2 separate regions of the Homo sapiens genome follow, and region 2 is linked to region 1. The links are contacts of gene promoters, found by promoter capture Hi-C in human tissues and cell types (Jung and others, 2019). All regions are on one chromosome and are shown on one strand. Each heading gives the region's core, a stretch centred on a gene start or on the middle of the fragment in contact. The rest is flanking DNA. Distances are from core to core; before and after follow the strand shown.

The links. Contacts are between HindIII fragments. The study calls those that stand out against the background at their distance.
Region 2: a contact is called between a fragment that was not itself captured here and the fragment with the promoter of FLT3 in region 1, in 1 of the 25 tissues and cell types used here (stomach).

What each region holds. Positions count from the first base shown.
Region 1 is chr13:28,099,208-28,101,949 of GRCh38, reverse strand. FLT3 (fms related receptor tyrosine kinase 3) reads left to right here and starts at 1,374. Exons shown (of 24, transcript NM_004119.3): 1 at 1,374-1,482. The coding sequence starts at 1,440. RefSeq lists an enhancer at 961-1,090 and silencers at 1,201-1,260, 1,381-1,540. The HindIII fragment of the contact is 18,739 bases long and covers 1-2,742 here.
Region 2 is chr13:28,162,211-28,165,068 of GRCh38, reverse strand. All of the region lies in intron 1 of PAN3 (poly(A) specific ribonuclease subunit PAN3), which reads right to left. Among named protein-coding and RNA genes, the nearest start is that of PAN3-AS1, 24 kb to the right of the region's middle. The HindIII fragment of the contact is 8,119 bases long and covers 1-2,858 here.

The DNA of each region.
Region 1 (2,742 bases), core at 125-2,624:
AGTATTGTATTTTTTGGGACTAGCTTATTTCACTTAGCATAATGTCAAGATTCATCCATATTTTAGCTGTATCAGAATTTCCCTCCTCTTTAAAGCTGAAAAATACTCAGTCGTATGTATATACTGCATTTTTGTTTATCATTCATCTGTTGTGGACATGGGTTACTTCTGCCTTTTGACTACTGTGAATAATGCTGCTTTCAACACGGGTGTACAGACATCTCTTCAAGACCCTGCTTTCAATTCTTTTGGCTACATGGCCAGAAATGGAATTGTTGGACCGTATTTTTTTTAATTTTTTGAGAAACCTCTATAGTGTTTTCCATAGTGGCTGCACCATGGTAGACACTTCTAAAGTTTCTGCCATACCCTAGGGGAAAGAATTATTGTACTGTAGACAACATCTAAGGAAAAGAACTGTATGGCCAAGAGTAAACAGTCAATTTTCATGCTTTATTAGAAAATAATTAAAATAATTAAGAGCGTGGAATTCCTAGAATTGGGAGAGACATTATGAACCATTTGGTCCATCCCTTTCCTTTACGATGAGTAAACAGAGGTTTGTGGAGGTCAAACGGCTAGTTAAGTAAGGGAAGAACCAGAACTGGCATCCAGAGCTTTCCAATCCTCAACTTATTGCAAAGAAAATAATAATAATTTTCAACTCGAAAAATTATGCGATGAAGAACAAGAACTATTGAGCGGATGATTCGCAACATCCTCTGGGATGTATTTTCTGTGTGTTTTGTTTTGAAGGCTGTTTGTTAACCTCCCTAATTGCCTTGGTTGACATTGAAACCCTGCCTGTTTTTCTTGATCCCGCCGCTGACTGGGTCCTGAGCATCCTAGGAGATGGAGGCAGAGACAAAGGAAATCAGTCCACAATTAAGAATGGAATGGTTCTTAATGGAATGCTCGCCTGTGCGCTGGCGGGAGTTGCCAGCGTGCCGAGCGGATTCAGCGCCTTTCTCAGGGCCTCAAAGATCCCAGCGCACTAGGAGGGTGGTTTGTGGCTCCCTGCAGTCCCCACGCCCCGGATCCAAACGACAGAGTTCGGGGACTCACAGGGGCAGCAAGGCGGCAGAGCCGCGGAGCCAGTGCAACTTCTCCGGCGGGACCGCGCCCAATCTTCCCCGCCGCAGTCGGGGAGCCCCGGGGGCCGCCGAGCACAGGCTGCGGACCGCGGCGGGCACGTGGGCTCGGCTGCAGCGCTGCGCCAGGCACCGGCTGCTCGGCTCTGCCCAACCTCTCCGCTCCCGCCTCGGTCCCTGCCTCTGGGGAGAGGGTTCCTCCCCCCTTCCACTTTGCACCAGTCCGAGGGAATTTGCGGTCGGTGACGCGCATCCTTAAGAGAGCCACCTGCAGCGCGAGGCGCGCCGCTCCAGGCGGCATCGCAGGGCTGGGCCGGCGCGGCCTGGGGACCCCGGGCTCCGGAGGCCATGCCGGCGTTGGCGCGCGACGGCGGCCAGCTGCCGCTGCTCGGTAAGGCCCCGCTCGCTCGCTCGCAGCCCCTCGCGGTCCCTCAGCCCCCACCCCGCAGTGTGGACCCGGGCGCGCGCCTCCTCCGGCCCAGCCGCCTCGCTCCTCCCCGCGCTCGCTCCTTCCATTGCCTCCCGCGCCCCTCCCCTCTTTCGCGCCCTCCGGACTCGCCCACTACTTGCCTGCGGCCCCGGCGTTTCCCACCCCGCGTCCTCTTCCCTCTTCTCCGAAGTCTCTCCTCTGGCTCGGGCCGCGGTCCCGAGTGGCGGCCCGGACTTCGCAGACGGCCTCGCCGAGGCGCTGCGCCGGGTCTGGGGCAGCTCGGCCCGCGCGCTCGGGTGCTGGGCCGTCCGTGGGAGTCTGCGGCCGCGAACTCGGCGCCAGGTGGCCAAGGACCTCTCCTGGCCCGGCCCTTGGATACTGTAGACACCTGGGTGTCGTCTTTAACTCTTCTTTTGAGGTTTTGATTTATGGAGGGAACTCTGATGGGAAAATGCGTCCGCGTTCTCCCCTAGAGCGAGTCATCCTCAATAACGATACCCCCCAGCCCCGCCGAATTTTGGTTGGATCAACGAATAGTTTACCTAGGAAATATTATGCAAACAGATTTACATATTAAAATACTAGCTGTCCCTTTCTTCTAGTCTCTTCTTATCCTGGCATAAACCCCAAAGGGGTTTTCAAGGACTCCGAGGACTGTCCCCAAAGAATCTGCTGGGTAGCATAGTTGTTATTGAAAAAAAAAATCTTCCCATCGGTTCGCGTCAGCTTTCTATTTGGAAAGATGAGAGGACTGAATCGAATTTGGGTTGAAGGCGACAGAGTTCTGGGTGCCCGGCAGCTCCGGTCCCTGTCCTAGGTCTGCAACCTTGGGACTGACACTCACCTCCCCCGGCCTCCGCGTCCTCATCTGTGCAGTGAGGGAGTCCGTCCGAGTCCCCTTCAGCTCTGAAATGCTAGGACTTGAAGTCTCTGTGGTAAATAGAGAAAATGCTTGCAATATAGAAGTGCAGGAATTATATCCAATAGCTTTTGTTACAAATAATTCTGAAATATAAAAAGTAAAAAATGGAAATCGGGGGAAAAGAGTTGAAAAACAAAGACATTTTAGTTCTTAAATAGTTATCTTTACTAGTTAGTAAATCTGTAATTTCAAATGTGTAGTACAATATGTTTTCCAGATTCCGTTAATACAAAATGTTAGCTTTCTATTATGTATGATATTAAGTAGTAAGTGCATTTTTCAGAAGCATAATGGGCTTT
Region 2 (2,858 bases), core at 252-2,751, 63 kb before region 1:
AGACGTGGTGATACATGCCTGTAGTCCCAGCTACTCGGGAGGCTGAGGCAGGAGAATCACTTGAACCTGAGAGGCAGAGGTTGCAGTGAGCTGAGATCGCGCCACTGCGCTCCAGCCTGGCAACAGAGTGAGATTCGGTCTAAAAAAAAATAAGAACTTCTCCATCTGTCAGCAGTTACCCCATGACTATTAACAGATAAATGTACACAATTATAACCTACTTTTTAAAAAAATCCAATCCTGCAGCTTAATTTTCTTCTTCAGACTTAACCCCTCTTAATGAATTGAGTCTAATTCTCCAAAAACATCATACTAGAGCAGTGTTACTCAAAAGGTCATCTATGGTCAAGAAACTTGGAAAATTCTGGGGGAAAATGAGTAAAAACAAGTAAACCCATTTCTTTACTGTACAACTTCCCAGGATGTGTGTATACAATGTGAACTGTGATCATCCAAAAAGAAGTCAGAGTACTTCCCAAATTTACTTGAGTAGGGAACCCTTTCTACATGGAACATCTTCAGAGACTAGAGTTCCATCATAGAAGACATTTTCCAAAAAGTACCCAGCTACAAGTGCCAAGTAGGGCATTACAGAGAAGATGCTGGCGATGCTCACGCTAAAGGATGAAATCCAAACTTCTTAGTTTGACATTAGCATATCCTCAACAATTTGTTCTCAACTATCATGCTAATACTTCTAAAAGGTGCTGAGTTTGAGTCTTGGTTCTGCCATTTACTGGCCACAAAGTCTTGGGCAAAATGCTTATAAGATGCAGATTATGCCATGAATTATAAAATGAAAATCATACCATCTACCAAGAAAACTTCAATTAAGAGTTATGAAAAACAATATCTTAAAGTTATTTTAAAAAACTGTATAACTCTATACAGTTATTAAAAATAACTGAATTGTACTTATAATAGGTGAATTTAATAGCATGTAAATTACATTTCAATAAAGGTTTTGGTTTGGTTTTGTTTTTGAGACAGCTCTGTTGCCCAGGCTGGAGTGCAGTGCCACAATCTCAACTCACTGCAATCTCTGCCTCCCAGGCTGAGGAAATCCTCCCACCTCAGCCTCCCAAGTAGCTGGGACTACAGGCGCACACCACTATGCCTGGCCAATAAAACTTTTCGTTTAATTAGTAGAGGAAAAGGGGGATTATTCAGTAAATGGACTTAAGACAACTGAGTATCCATCTAGGGAAAAAACTGAATACCTTACACCAATATTTACAAAAGATTAAAGATCATGGCGTAAAGTAATAAAAGTATACATCTACTGTAAGATCTTTACAAGAATCATATAACGATTGAACTTTCTCCTCCAGTTACAATGATATACTCATTATATGCTTAAAATCTCCCACACTTTACCATCTGGAGTATAATCAATTTCTAATATACATACTCAAGACTCAGGTATGATGAGAAAGAAAAAATACTTGGAGTTACACATTGAGTTTGGGTCCTACTTGTGCCATTTACATACTATATGAGCATGAGCAAGTAACTGTAAATTTCATTTCTTCATCTGAAAAAAGAGGTTAAATACCATCTCACTCATAGGGTTGTGGTGTGGAATCAAATGAAATAATCTATGTAAAGTGCCTAGTATGTTTTCTAACAGGTCATCATAAACATTATTTTTTAATTTGCCCTTCTCTAGAAAGTATTCCCCAATTATTCCAAGCTGTTAAAACCTTTACCTCTTAAGATACTATTTATATCACTCATTTGAGAAAAAAAAACTTCCTTTTGACTTTTTATTGCTGTCTTCAACTACAGTATTTAAGCCTTTACATTTTCAGGTATTTCTGTACTATCTACTAATGTAAATTATCTTATCTTTGTTTTGTTTTGAATTTATTTTTTATTATTTTTTGTAGAGACAGGGTCTCATTATGTTGCTGGTCTCGAACTCCTGGGCTTAGGAAATTGAGGCTGCAGTGAGCTGTCATCATACCACTGCACTACAGCCTGGGTGACAGAGCAAGATGCTGTCTCAAAAAAAAAACTTCCTGGGCTCAAGTGATCCTCCTGCATTGGCCTCCCACAGTGCTGAGTTTACAGGTGTAAGCCACTGCATTCGGCCTTAAATTATCTGTAACTACACTGTATGTATCTGTAATTATGCACACCTTTCACTTTTTGGTACTCCTTAATCTAATAGCACATTTTTGTTAGGTTTTTTTTTTTTTAAGCTTGGTGGCAAGTTGTTATTTTTGAGAAAAAGTCTCCCTCTGTCACCCAGGCTGGAGTGCAGTGGCATAATCAGCTCACTGCAGCCTCAAACTCCTGAATTCAAGCAATCCTCCCTCCTTGGCCCCTCAAAGTACTGGGACTACAGGCATGAGTTACTGAGCCCAGCCTAGCACATTTGTACAAACTTTTATTTTCAATTAAATGCTTTTTTTTTTTTAAGGCAGAGTCTCACTCTGTTGCCCAGGTTGGAGTGCAGTGGCGTGATCTCAGCTCACTGCAACCTCCACCTCCTGGGTTCTACAGGTGTGCGCCACCACGCCCATATAATTTTTTGTATTTTTAGTAGAGGTGGGGTTTCGCCATGTTGCCCAGGCTGGTCTCAAACTCGTGAGCTCATGCAATCCACCCGCCTCGGCCTCCCAAAGTGCTGGGATTACAGGCATGAGCCACGGCACCCGGCTGATTGCCTCCACTTTTCCAATGAGGAAACTGAGACCTCAGAGATGCCAGATGACAGTACAGTGAGTGCAGGCCCAAGAAACAGGGGCTCCTCTACCCCCTCAGCAGATACTCACACCATCCTTTTCTTTATCGGATTGTGGAATGAGCATAGACTTTTAACAAATACTGACCATGAGGTCTGTTTCAGCCAG